2 separate regions of the Homo sapiens genome follow, and region 1 is linked to region 2. The links are contacts of gene promoters, found by promoter capture Hi-C in blood cells and fetal thymus (Javierre and others, 2016). All regions are on one chromosome and are shown on one strand. Each heading gives the region's core, a stretch centred on a gene start or on the middle of the fragment in contact. The rest is flanking DNA. Distances are from core to core; before and after follow the strand shown.

The links. The method cuts DNA at HindIII sites, captures the fragments that hold promoters and counts their contacts. A CHiCAGO score of 5 or more calls a contact.
Region 1: a fragment that was not itself captured here is called in contact with the fragment with the promoter of PPP1R3C in region 2 in 1 of 17 cell types (endothelial precursors); the score reaches 8.0 in endothelial precursors.

The regions. Positions count from the first base shown.
Region 1 is chr10:91,557,979-91,564,854 of GRCh38, reverse strand. All of the region lies in intron 1 of HECTD2-AS1 (HECTD2 antisense RNA 1), which reads left to right. The region is part of intron 2 of LOC105378433 (a long non-coding RNA gene); the gene reads right to left. Among named protein-coding and RNA genes, the nearest start is that of HECTD2-AS1, 50 kb to the left of the region's middle. The HindIII fragment of the contact is 4,513 bases long and covers 725-5,237 here.
Region 2 is chr10:91,627,718-91,635,433 of GRCh38, reverse strand. PPP1R3C (protein phosphatase 1 regulatory subunit 3C) reads left to right here and starts at 2,363. Exons shown (of 2, transcript NM_005398.7): 1 at 2,363-2,478; 2 at 4,568-6,992. The coding sequence starts at 2,465. The coding sequence ends at 5,507. RefSeq lists enhancers at 1,731-2,230, 2,231-2,732 and a silencer at 2,257-2,396. The HindIII fragment of the contact is 3,050 bases long and covers 340-3,389 here.

The sequences.
Region 1 (6,876 bases), core at 1,732-4,231, 71 kb after region 2:
GAATATATCAGGTTACATACTTTTCAGAAATCCAACCCAATCCTTAGTGTGCATGTCTCAGCTAAGATGCTTTCAGCTTTATCACTTGCAAGTACTTCTGTCTTTTTTGAGATAAGGTCTTTTCTGTTCCCCAGCCTGGAGCTCAGTGGCATAATTATAGCTCACTGCAGCCTCCAACACCTGGGCTCAAGCAATCCTGCTGCCTGAACCTCTTGAGTAGCTGAGACTACAGGCATGTGCCACCGTGCCTGGCTATTTTTTTTTTTTTTTTAGTGGAGACAGTGTCTCACTGTGTTGCCCAGGCTTGTCTCGAACTCTTGGGCTCATGTTGTCCTCCTGCCTCGGCCTTCCAAGGTGCTGGGATTATAGGGGTGAGCCACAATGCCCGGCCAACTTGCTAGTACTTCTGTAGGAAGGCAGGAGACCCGTTTTCATAGTCCTTTCAAATGGAAGAGGTGGTAACTGGCTAGAGAGCAGAAAGAGGTAACAGTAATGAAGGCAGAGCTTGCGCTGCAATTTGAATAAAGTTGCAACCTTATTTATCATCCACCAGATTAACTGTAAGAGGGCAAGTGGGGTACTGCAGTGCCCTGTGCCGCCTGGCCTTCTAGTGTTCTAGCTGCAGGCCCAGCGCACTGGCAACTGTCACACTGACTAACATAGACCAATATAGAATCCTCTAGCTTGGCAGGCTCTGGAGACAGAGGCTGTGGCCTTTTAAGCTTTGCATACCCATTGCCTGGACCTGGTACATAATTGGTGCTCAATAAGTATTTGTTCAATAAATGAACAAATTGAGATATGGACTATATATATAAATGCTATAGGAATTTTAGAAGAGATATTATTGTGGACTTTCTCTAGACCTTGAACCTGAGATTGCTGTGCAATAAATTACTGTGTAGGAAACAACCTACAGAAACCACAACTTAGAGTAGAAACTGCCAGCATTCCTTTGAGAAGATGGACACACTGGGTTACCTTGGTTTATGAAGAGTTGCTCAAATGGTGTCTCTTAGTTAAGCAAATATAAGAAGACACCTATTGGTCTGGGAAAAAGATGTAATGGGGACTTACTTTCTTTTGTGGCTTAACAGCAACTGCTTCTCCCTTTGGTTTGCAGTGTGCAGAAGTTGGGTTGACTTGCATAAGAGGCTCAGGATTTTTCTGGGTAGGAAAGTACAGGAGCACAGGCTCCTTTTATGGAGTTTGGAAGTGAGAGGAATGTCACGAGTGTATCCTGGGGTAGCCAAGACCTTGGAATGATTGGCAGAAAATTACTCTAATGTCTTCAGAGTGGGAGTTACTGTGGGGGAAAAGGGTGTCTGGCTTTGTGACTTGGGCTTAACCCAAACCCTAATGATGATTGTGGGAGCCACCAGCATCAAGCTCTGGGCACATGGCATAGCATACAGGTGTGATTAGAGGAGCTGAAACCTGCAAACTGGGTCAGGACCCGGGCCAAGGGCATAACCACAGGGCAGACAAATGTCCTAAGCTAGCAAAGGCAGGGCTTCAACTGCATGAGGCAGCAGGAAGCAATGGCAGTAGTGACCAGATTAGATTTTTAAGTTGTCATTTCATTTGACAAAAAGAAGTCCCTGGAATTCTTATACAATTTTGAGAGAACAGAAAGAGGGAAACATAGTTCTAATAGGCACATATAGGACCTCCAAAAGTGAACTGAAAAACAAAGTGTGACTATGTTTGTATCCCAAGCTAGTGAAGTAGGTCATACCAATTACAGGTTGAGAAACAAAGGAACTTTGTCACACAGGAGGCACCAAATGAGCAGAGGGGTGGAGATGGAAATAAGTCTGCTGTGTGGTTTGTGAGGGACCCACAGTGAGAAGGGTCAAGTTGGCAGTGGTCAGATGGTCAGATATGAGCTTGTGTGGGTAAACGAATGATATGGTTTGACTGTGTCCCTACCCAAATCTCATCTTGAACTGTAGTTTCCAAAATCCCCATGTGTCATAGGAGAGACCCAGTGGGAGGTAATTGAATTATGGGGGCAGTTACCTCCATGCTGTTCTTGTGATAGTGAGCAAGTTTTCATGAGATCTGATGGCTTTATAAGGGGTTTCCCCCCTTTTGCTCTGCACTTCTCCTTGCTGCTGCCATGTGAAGAAGGATGTTTTTGTTTCCTTTTCTGCCATGTTTGTAAGTTTCCTGAGTCTGCCTCCTCCACAGCCCGGCAGAGAAAATTAAACCTCTTTTCTTTCAAAATTACCCAGTCTTGGGTATGTCTTTATAGAAGTGTGAGAACAGACTAATACAGTAAATTGGTAGCAGGTAGTGGGGTGCTGCTGTAAAGATACCTGAAAATGTGAAAGTGACTTTGGAACTGTGTAACAGGCAGAGGCTAGAACAGTTGGGAGGGCTCAGAAGAAGACAGGAACATGTGGGAAAGTTTGGAACTTCCTAGAGACTTGAAGGGGCTCAGAAGACAAGAAGATGTGGTAAAGTTTGGAACTTCTTAGAGATTTGTTGAATGGCTTTGACCAAAATGCTAATAGTGATATGGACACTAAACTCCAGGCTGAGGTGGTCTCAGATGGAGATGAGAAACTTGTTGGGAACTGGAGTAAAGGTCACTTTTGCTATGCAAAGAGACTGGTGGAATTTTGCCCCTGTTCTAAAGACCTTTGGAACTTTGAACTTGAGAAAGATGACTTAGGGTATCTGGCAGAAGAAATTTCTAAGCAGCAAAGCATTCAAGAGGTTACAGAGCATAAAAGTGGAAAATTTGCAGCCCAATGGTGCAGTAGAAAAGAAAAAAACCCATTTTCTGGGGAGAAATTCAAGCTGGCTACAGAAATTTGCATAAGTAATGAGGAGCCAAATGTTAATCACCAAGACAATGGAGAAAATGTCTCTAGAGCATGTCAAAGATCCTCACGGCAGCCCCTCCCATCACAGCCCTGGAGGAAAAAATGGTTTCTTGGGCCAGGCCCAGGGCCTTGCTGCTTTGTGCAGTCTTGGGACTTGGTGCCCTGTCCCAGTGTGGCTAAAAGGGGCCAACATACAGCTGAGGCCATTGCTCCAGAGGGTGCAAACCCCAAGCCTTGGCAGCTTCCACAGGGTGTTGGGCCTGTGTGTGCACAGAAGTCAAGGACTGAGGTTTGGGAACCTCTGCTTAGATTTTAGAGGGTGTATGGAAACACCTGGATGTCCGGGCAGAGGTGTGCTCCAGGGGTGGAGCCCTAATGGAGAACCTCTGCTAGGGCAGTGCGGAAGGGAAATGTGGGATCAGAGCCCCCATACAGAGTCCCCACTGGGGCACTGCCCATTGGAGCTGTAATAAGAGGACCATCGTCCTCCAGACCCCAGAATGGTAGATCCACTAACAGCTTGCATCATGCGCCTGGAAAAGCTGCAGACACTCAACGCCAGCCATGAAAGCAGCTGGGAGGGGGGGCTGTACTCTGCAAAGCCACAGGGGTGGAGCTGCCCAAGGCCATGGGAGGCCACCTCTTGCATCTCACGTGACCTGGAGGTGAGACATGGAGTCAAAGGAGATCGTTTTGGAGCTTTAAGATTTGACTGCCCCATTGGATTTTGGACTTGCATGGGGCTTGTAGCCCCTTCATTTTGGCCAATTTCTCCCATTTGGAATGGGTGTATTTACCCAATGCCTGTAACACTATTGTTATCTAGGAAGTAACTAACTTGCTTTTGATTTTGCAGACTCATAGGCAGAAGGGACTTGCCTTGTTTCAGAGGAGACTTTGGACTTAGACTTTTGAGTTAATGCTGGAATGACTTAAGAATTTGGGGGACTGTTGGGAAGGCATGATTGTGTTTTGAAATGTGAGGACATGAGATGTGGGAGCGGTCAGGGGAGGAATGATGTGGTTTGGCTATGTTCCCACTCAAATCTCATCTTGAACTGTAGTTCCCATAATCCCCATATGTCGTGGGAGGGACCTGGTGGGAGGTAGTGGAATCATGGGGGCGGTTACCTCCATGCTGTTCTCATGACAGTGAGTGAGTTCTCATGAGATCTGATGGTTTTATAAGGGGTTTTCCCCCACTTCACTCTGCACTTCTCCTTGTTGCCGTCTTGTAGAGAAGGATGTGTTTGCTTCCTTTTCCACCATGATTGTAAGTTTCCTGAGGTCCACCCCCGCCCAGCCCTGCAGAACTGTGAGTCAATTAAACCCCTTTCCTTTATAAATTTCCCAGTCTCAGTATGTCCTTATACCAGTGTGAGAATGGACTAATACAATGAAGTTAGATTATGGATGGGTTATGGTGGTGGCAGACCAGAAATGTGGGCATTATTCCCAGAGGCTATGGCTTTTAGGGCATGTAAGCCCAAGCAGTAATTCTGATGGTGCCTTGAAGAATGAGTGGCAGGGGTAGGGGTCTGGAGGCAGGGAGGCCAGCTGGAGGTTTAGGTCCAGGGGATGGCTGCCTGATGCCTCGAGGGCATGGATTGAATTTTCGTCATCCCCAGTCCCCAGGTCTGATGCATAGTAAGTGCTTAAGAAAGACTTGTTGAATTGAATTACAAGAATGCTGTCACCAAGTGGGAAGCAATTTCTAGGTGGTAAATGGAGCTCCTGGTTTCAGAAACTGGGATACCCGGATTCCAAGTGCTGGCATTTCTTGTCTGTCTATGTGACGTGCAACTTATTTCACCTTGTTGGAATTTTAGTTTCTTTAGGTGTGAAGATCATTCAGCCATTCATTCACCAAGCACTTGTTGATCATAGCCAAGAACCACATATTGTGCTAAACTTGGGAGAATCAAAGAGGAACAATATGATATTCCTGTCTTTGAAGACTTTGTGATTTAGTTGGAGAGATACATGTACAAGAAAATCATTTATTACTGCATGGAGTGTGTTTTCATTGAGGGATGCACAAAGTGCAGTGGGATTGCAGAATGATCTCTAACGTGTATTTAGCACTTACCGTGTGTCAGGAACTGTTCAAAGTTCATGCAGGCATTTAATCCTCATAATAACCAATGAGGTAGTTATTTCTATGATCTCTATTTTCTGGAAAGGAAACTGAGGCACAGAGCTTAAGTAACTTTCCCATGTTTCCACATTTGATAGATGGGAAAGGGGCAACTAGCAGAGAGACTAGTACATGTAAAAGCGCAAGAGTCTGAAATAACATTTTGTTTGCTAGAACAGTACATGAGACTAGAAAAGAGTAGGGAACCAAAGCATAACAGGCTTTGAATGCTATATGAGAAAATTTGGCCTCTACCTAAGAAAGCTTTCCGGCATTTTCCAAAGTGTTTGGAGGAACTTAAGATCTGAGGAACGTTAATATAGTGTGTATTAGTCAGAAACAGACTACTGGCTCTGTTCTTCAGAGAACAGAAACAGAATCAATAAGTTATGTTTTTATGTACTTACTTGTTTACTCATCTTAAAGAATTACAGGTTGAAAAAGTCCAGATCTGCAGTCTGCAAGTTGCAGACCCAGGAGAGCCAATGTCCAGTTGCAGTCTGAGTCCAAAGGGCTGAGAACCATGAGAGCTGATGGTGTAAGATCCAGTCCAAAAGCCAGCAGGCTTGAAACCCAAGACGAGCTGATGTTTTGGTATAAGACTGAAGGTTAGAAAAGACTAATATCTCAGCTCCAGCAGTCAAGTGGGAGGAATTCCTTTTACTCAATCTTTTTGTTCTATCCAGGCCTTCAATTGATTGGATGAGGCCCACCCACATTAGGGAGGGCAGTCTGCTTCACTCAGCCCACCACTTCAAACATTACCACTTCAAATATCAACCTCATCCTGAAATACTCTCACAGACATACCCAGAATAACATTTGACCAAATGTCTGGGCACCCTGTGGCCCAGTCAGGTTGGCACATAAAATTAACCACCACAGGGTGTTAGGTGTAAAAAGGTGTCTACAGTTACAGTGAACAATGCTGGCTGCTTACCCATTCTCTTTGCCTTCCTAACAGAGCTCTAGTTTTGTTCAGGAATCTATTCTTCCTCCATGCAGCTTCATGCTTTTTTTTTTTTTTTTTTTTGTCAGTGATTGGTTCAGGAGTGGATATGTGACCAGATTCTGGCCAATGAGACTTGATTGTATACCAGGGAGCTTGCGGGAAACTTCTCTCCTAAGAGAGGCCACGTGAAGAAATGATCCTTCTTTTTCCTCTGTCAGGCCTGAGTGTGATGCCTGTAACTGTCATCCCACTAGTGGCCTGAAGATGAAGCTGACACTGAGGGTGCTAGAGTTGGAAAATATGGACACAAATCTCCCAAGCTTGTCCTACCTCTCTGAACATCTGCTTTGTAAAGCGTCACAAATAGTCCTTATTGTTTATTCCAGTTTTGAGTCAGGGTTTCTGTCACTTGTAGCTATATCCTACAGGATATGATCATAAAATAAGATTGGAGGCTTGGCTTAAGCAAAAATAAGGAGGCTTTTAAAATTCCAGGGCTTCTCACTCAGTGCAACAGCATTTATTATGCAGGTGTACTTTGCAAATATCCAAAGTTGGATATAACACACAGCATTTCCTAAACAGGTGTGACCCTGGAAACCTTTGTGGTGAACAATCCACGGTACTGATGTCCCACAGAAATACTCCCATAGGCAATGGGAAGACTTGGGAATCCTCAAAGTAGGCGGATGATAACATTACATGCTCAATAAAATCCCACCTTCCCCTCTCTAGCTGTATGAAGAATCGTGTCTCTGATGATCATAAAATGTAAGGGAACTCAGAAGTACCTCCCCAGAAAAAGATTGCAAGCCCTAACTTACTAGACTAACTGATTTCTTAGTCCCCTTCCAGTTCTCAAATTCTGCAGGGATTGTATAATTTGGTACATTCATCTCCGAGCATTGAACAAAGTTTCCCTTCCTGTTTTCAGTCACTTGCCAACATCTGTG
Region 2 (7,716 bases), core at 1,114-3,613:
ATTATTTCTTAATTAGGTCGTGTATGTTCATTGTAGAAAAATTAAGAAAAACAACAGAGCAGCAAAACAACGAAGACATTTTTAATCACTCATAATCTCACCATTCCAAAATGAACTGTTCACATTTCTGTAGAGCACATTCTGTTTTCTATGCATGGATACCTTTCCCTCAAAATGCGATCACCATAAATTGTTATTCATGTTTCTCCATAGTTTTAACTGGTAATATTTACTATTTAGCTCAACATATAATCATGGGTAGAGGAAAAGAATACCCAGGGTTCTAGTTTTGGCTCAGACCTAGCCAGCCCCTGGCAAGCAGCTTGACCTGTCTAAGCTTTCAGTTCCTCATCTGTGAAATAAAGAGTTTGATGCCTATCACCTCCTACCTCCATAATTCTAACCATTGATGGGTCATTAAAATAAGACAATATGGTGCAGCGGTTATTGCTCTGGTATCAGCCAGGCTCTAATCCCTGCTCTACCTGTGAGAACCTGGGCAGGTTTTTTTTTTGTTTTTTGTTTTCGAGATAGAGTCTCGCTCTGTTGCCCAGGCTGGAGTGCAGTGGTGCAATCTCAGCTCACTGCAACCTCCGCCTCCCGGGTTCAAGCGATTCTCCTGCCTCAGCCTCCAGAGTAGCTGAGAGTACAGGTGTGCACCACCATGCCCGGCTAATTTTTGTATTTTTAGTAGAGATAGGGTTTCACCATGTTGGCCAGGCTGGTCTTGAACTCCTGGCCTCAAGTGATCCACTGGGCAGATTTCCTGACCATTCAGTGTCTCCGTTTTCTTTTCTCTAAAATGGGATTAATAATTGGACATATCACATAGGGTTGTTGTGAGGATTGAATTGATAGCACATAGTGTTTGGCACAGAGTAAAGGCTCAACAAGCAGCAGCTATTCTCAATATTTTAGCTCAGGCACCAGGCGCCTTGAGGTGATAGAGTAAAAACTCTAGCTGAGAGATCAAGTAGAAACTTGGGAACTAGCCCGGGTGGAACACAGGCACTGGGCATCGTGCTGAGTCTGTTCATTGGCACCATCTTACTTCATCTTCAGAACGTTACTATCTCTGTTTTACACATGAGGAAACTGAGGTTAGAACTTGCCTAGATTCGTGTAGCTAGTAAGTGTCAATCCAAAGACCTTCCAGCTAGTTTTGGTTGAGCTAAAGGGGCTAGAAGACCTGCCATTAGTTAGATATTTCATTTCAAAAATAAAACCCAGGCATGAAGTCCCTTTCCCAGTGATATTCAGTGTGATTTTTTTCTTCACTCTAATAATTTTAACAATTCCACTGTTTGACAGTTGTTTAAAAGACATAGGAATTTTTGTATATTTTAATTGACTAATGGATAGCTCAATTAGGGGAGCAAAACTAGGATGTGGGTTTTATAAAAATAATTTAGACTTGACTTAGACATTTAATTTTACAGTTGTAAATGATGGTCTAAAAATTCTTCAAACTAATCAAAATAATGAAACTTCAGCGAAAGTGAGTGGCTCAGAAGGCCCATGAAACATACGGCGTGATTTTTTAAATTTTATTTTAACATTTTGATTTCCACACCACTGCCAAAGGACGTCAGAATTGAGTAAGGGGTTTGGGTTGACTGCTGCCTCTTGACCGGCTGTATGTGTGAAAAGGGTCATTTCACTTCCGGCTTTAGTGTTCCCCGCAGGGGAGAAAATTGAAGAATAGACAGAAATACGAAGTGTCTTTTAATTAAATGCCACCTTGGTGTTTTATGGGGCTCGTATGCTTTCCTAACAACATTTGTTAGATAAGTTGGTAATTCCCGGCAGCTGTCTACTGTGTGGTGCATCTGTGAACTCATACTAATCGAAAAGCATGCAGCCAGTTTGGGATCGCGCAGGCTAAGGTGAGGGAGAAATGCGGATACACCGGGTAATGAACGATATAAACATTTCAAATGCGATACACATTCGGTTTGAGCCACATCTTCTGTGTGCAGATTCACCCGCAGTGACCCACAAAGCTATTCCCAAGTAACAGCCGCCCCAAGCCTGAGGCACTGGCGCCCCGCCTGGGCGAGGCTGGCTGCGCTCTCTCTTGGCCGGCGCCCGCTGCATGCGGTACGTGCCTGCCCGGCCCCTAGCCCAGGGTTCCCGTTACGCGGCTGGTTCCAGCTGGCCGCGGAGTCCCAGAACCTCCCCGCGATGCCCAGATAGCTCTCTGCACGTCTCGCCCCGGGGCGATCACGTTGCCGGGGCGAGGGCTGGCGCCCCAGCTGGGCGCTGGTTGGTCGCGCCCTGGGGCTCGAGGCCCGGCGATTGGTCCCAGGGATCGGGTCACGTGCTTGGGAGCAGATAAGCGGCCTCTAGGCGCCGGGCCCTCAGTCTCTCCCAGCGACCGCCGCGGGGGCAAGGCCTGGAGCTGTGGTTCGAATTTGTGCAGGCAGCGGGTGCTGGCTTTTAGGGTCCGCCGCCTCTCTGCCTAATGAGCTGCACCAGGTAGGTTCGCTGCAACTCTGCGCGCTAGGAACACAGGGGAACGCGCAGCTGTGGGGAAGTTGGGGGGCGTTTCAGTTCTATCATCTCTGGAAATGGACACCCCAGGGGGAGGACAAGTGGACTGACTGCGTAGTTGAATCTGGCAACCGAGAGGCCTTGGAGGTGTAGAAATTTGGCTCTATTTCTTAAGCAGAGCCTATTTTAGTAATCAGCATCTTAAAGCAGAAATTATCTTAACGTGAATCAGCTTGAGTTAGGATTTTCTCATGGATGCGGCTGTTCTTTTGGTCCTGCACAAATGTCCCAAAGACTCGGGCAGCTGAAGTGGTGAGAACAGCACTCTGACATTGCTGGTTAGGTGGTTTAGCTTGGAGGAAAAAAATTACAGGACGACGTTTGCATTCATTCGTCCTTCTTATCACAGTTTGCCATAGCAAAATCTCAAGAGTTTGAGCAAACGATTACTTTTAACTCTTGTCCAGGACTTAAAGTTCCAAGGAAATCACCCAAACTAAAACTGTCTTTCTATAAATGCAAAAAGTAAAAAAAAAAAAACAAAAAAACCAAAAAAAACCTCCCATAAAACTACTTTAAATAGCTTCTCCAGACATAGCTTAGCAGAAGACTTCTCTAAAAATCCTGCCTATTAACTATTATTAGACCCACAAATATAGCTTTAGCTTTCATTTGTTTGTTCTAAGTTTGCAGATCTCCCAGAAAAACCCCAGAGCTAACACAGTAAATTCTGCGAGTGTTATTACACACTTTTGTGATAATGACCACTTGCATACATGTTTAGAGCTGCTGTGAGGAGAGTTACTAAAGCCAGACTGAGAAATGTCGTGTACAGTATACACACACCTCTTACTTGTAAGGCTAAGATAGGGAAAAAAATCTTAATACCATAAGCTTGGAAATATATGATGAGGGCTAAAGGTCAGAGAAAAGTCTTCTTTATAGATGCTTCTTGGTTTAATATTGCTGAGCATAGTCATGTTTAAAACTTTAAATGGTTTTATTGTCTTTCTACTTATAAATGTCTATTAGAAAATGCCAAAAAAGAACAAAAACGAAAATAGATAATCTATAATCCTATCACCCAGAAATAATAATTATTAAATTATTAGGAAAGGTGTATTTCCTATAGAGTTTTTCAATATTTATAAGTTTGTATATATAAAATGTATATTTTAAAACACTCCAACTTTCAGGTAATCAGTTTTTCCACTTAAATGTGGACTTGTCATGGGCATCTCTTTAGGTGAATTATCAATTATATAGTTTTTAAGTGCATATGAATTGTTGGCTTGTATTTCAGTGGTTATTTGTGAAAAATAAGAGCATGATAATCAAAGTGCAAAGATGATTCTTTGACTTCTTCTCTAGCCTTCTCACTCTCAAAACTGTTGCATGTTATTTTTTTTTTTTCAAGTGAATTACCTTACCAGAGAAGTGTCAATCAATTTAGCAGCAAAATAAGCCAACGTAGCCAGAGGGAGCAGAGGGTCTGGAACTGTGGCTCCTGAACCTGTCTGGTCATTAGAATCACCTGGGAAGCTTTAAGAACATACCCATCCCTTGGCCCTAGCCCCAGAAGTTCTGCCTCAGTAGTTCTGAGTCCCAGGAATTGGAAAGAAAGAAGAAAGAGAAAGAGAGAGAGAGAGGAAGAAAGGAAGGAAGGAGGGAAGGAGGAAAGGAGGAAAGACAAGAAAGAAAGAAAATGAATTCCCTAGACATAGTGACCAGACAGGTTTGAGGACCACTGGTCCAGAACAGAGCACACAGTTCTCAAGGCTGCCTTGGAGATAATCAAATCGAACCCTTTTATTTCTCAGATGGGGAAACTGAGACCCCCATCACCCTCTAAGTGTTTTAAGCAATTAATAGCCTTTAGCCGGCCAAGGGTAGAGGTAGACATAGAAGATCTGATCACTTAATACTGTTCTCTTTTACTACATATGATAGCACCTGCCTGATATCTAGTGCACTGGCTATAATTCAGTCAGCACAAAAATAGTACATATGTATTTGGCACTGGGGAAGAGCATTTCCGATCCAGGTGATAATCCCTCTTCTTTTTGCATTCCAGAATGATCCAGGTTTTAGATCCACGTCCTTTGACAAGTTCGGTCATGCCCGTGGATGTGGCCATGAGGCTTTGCTTGGCACATTCACCACCTGTGAAGAGTTTCCTGGGCCCGTACGATGAATTTCAACGACGACATTTTGTGAATAAATTAAAGCCCCTGAAATCATGTCTCAATATAAAACACAAAGCCAAATCACAGAATGACTGGAAGTGCTCACACAACCAAGCCAAGAAGCGCGTTGTGTTTGCTGACTCCAAGGGCCTCTCTCTCACTGCGATCCATGTCTTCTCCGACCTCCCAGAAGAACCAGCGTGGGATCTGCAGTTTGATCTCTTGGACCTTAATGATATCTCCTCTGCCTTAAAACACCACGAGGAGAAAAACTTGATTTTAGATTTCCCTCAGCCTTCAACCGATTACTTAAGTTTCCGGAGCCACTTTCAGAAGAACTTTGTCTGTCTGGAGAACTGCTCGTTGCAAGAGCGAACAGTGACAGGGACTGTTAAAGTCAAAAATGTGAGTTTTGAGAAGAAAGTTCAGATCCGTATCACTTTCGATTCTTGGAAAAACTACACTGACGTAGACTGTGTCTATATGAAAAATGTGTATGGTGGCACAGATAGTGATACCTTCTCATTTGCCATTGACTTACCCCCTGTCATTCCAACTGAGCAGAAAATTGAGTTCTGCATTTCTTACCATGCTAATGGGCAAGTCTTTTGGGACAACAATGATGGTCAGAATTATAGAATTGTTCATGTTCAATGGAAGCCTGATGGGGTGCAGACACAGATGGCACCCCAGGACTGTGCATTCCACCAGACGTCTCCTAAGACAGAGTTAGAGTCAACAATCTTTGGCAGTCCGAGGCTGGCTAGTGGGCTCTTCCCAGAGTGGCAGAGCTGGGGGAGAATGGAGAACTTGGCCTCTTATCGATGAATTAAGCAACAATGTAACTGGTCTTGACTTGTCATATTCCCCCATGCAATCCTAGGTCTGTATTGCTCAATTTTAGGAAGCCTTTGCTACTCCATCAGTAGGTTTAGATTTGAGCTTTTGAGACCTGGCTATGGAAAAGAAAGACACTTGAGAATTTAGTGTTGGGGTCTGTACAGATGATGCTACCCAATTTGGCTTTGAAGGATCAAGTAACAGGTTGAAAACTATTTTTATAAAGGTAATACTTTTTCAGTTCCCTTCTTCCTTCCCTCTCAATCCACTAGCTTTCATGTTGGGCAAGGAAAAGTTGAGGAAGGATGGCTGATGGTGATGGAAAGCTGTGTTAATGGTATGAGGAATGTGTGAAAAGTATACACAAAGGGCTCTGAAGCTCAAGTCAGAGGAGTGGGAGGTCTGATCATTGTTGGTGGAAAAACGTAAGGTTATTTTGTGTTTTTAAGTTGGTTTTACAATTCTTTCCTGGGGAAATTATTTCTGGAGGGGAAAAAGATCCATTCTACGTATCCTTGTGGAGAAAAGCTAAATAACCTTTAAGAATGTGGGTGGTATTGGAGAAAGAAGATGAATTATAGCTCCGGAGAATCAAGATCTTAAGTGAAGCCTTTCTGTTCAGATGTGATCTATAAAAAATCATAATTTGGGGAAAGTTTAAGCAAATCTGGCTTTGTAGTCCTGATGTTATAAGTGACTTTGTGATCAAACTGTCAGGCTTGGGTTCTTGTTATAGAATGCTTGGTATAGAAAAACCATGCCATCATTAATGGCTAACAACACGTAGGGACTTCATGTCATGTCAAAGATAGCTCTTTGCAAGTGCCTTGATTAAACCAGAAAACTGTCATCGTTTAACCCAAATATCTGAATGGTCATCTGGTAACTCATGGGTTTTTGGCCTCATAAGATGGTCCACTCTGTACACAGGCATTCCTCCTGCAATAATGTTGTATCTTTGAGACCGTTGTCAGTGTACACAACTCACATCCTTCATATTGAAGGTGACTCATTTTTCTGCACACTTTTTTGATGTGATGCTTGACGTGAGGCCCGACACTAGGATTCTCAATGCAAGAATCCAGTACCTTGCACATAGAAGTAGCAACCCATCCCTTGCCTATTTTCATCTTGCTGTTTTCTTTTTTTTAAAAAAATGGATGTGACTTGTTTTGAATGTTTTGTATTATACTTGTTTTTGTGTGTGCATAAATTCATTCTGTAGGATCTTAAGAAAAAGAGTCCCAGAATGTTGCTTCTATTATTGTGCACAACCATTGAGAGGTGTTACAAGAATGCAGTTAATTTTAACATGTGTGATGTGCCATGGTGGAAAAGTACTATCGGAATAACTCTGCAGTGACAGAATTTGAAGTTTGGCTAGCATCCATACTTTTCTACTGTAAATATTTCACTCTCCTCTAGCTATCCTTGATGAGCTTCTCACTTTAAGAATAAATGTGTTTGATATAAGGCCTGAGTATATTTTCTTTCTCAAAGCCACAGTCAAATAAGAAACTCAACTGACATTCTCATTTTTCATTTAGGAACAACTGAGCAGAGTTAGTATGGACCAAGACATGGATCCATCTGAGGATATTCACAAGGCCCCAGTCTCAATAGTGAGCACACTTCCTACCACCTGACCATTGGGGCTGGAGAGCAGGGTCAATAACTTGAGCTGTTGCTACTACTTCTTCCCCTACCCTGACTGTCCTCATCTATGGTTTCTGCTCACACACACACAATCTGCTGGGTCAGGGTTATGTTGGAGGCCATGTCTCAGCTTTAAAATGGGGAAGGAGTTGGTGTGGGAAAGGTTGGAGTGGCTGCTACGTCTTGAGCTACAGCACGTTCCTGAACGGGCAGAACTTCCAGCTGCACAGAGGGGCATAGGGAAGGGGCAGTAGGCGCCAGTCCTGGACTGAAGGGAGCAGCACTGCTCCTTGGGGTGAGAGGCAGCAGGTCCATGAACCTAAGTTGTTGCTCCAGTTCTGCCTAAAATCTGCACAGTGTATCTAAAGAAAGATCTGCACAGTGTTGACCAATCTACTAAAAAGGCCCAATTATGAAGAATAAACTTTTATCATATCATAGAATCCTCTATGTCAGAGCTGTAAACCACAGGCCTGCAGGCTGTATCTGGGCACAGATGTATTTTATTTGACACGGGATTTTTAAAGAATTTATTGCCATG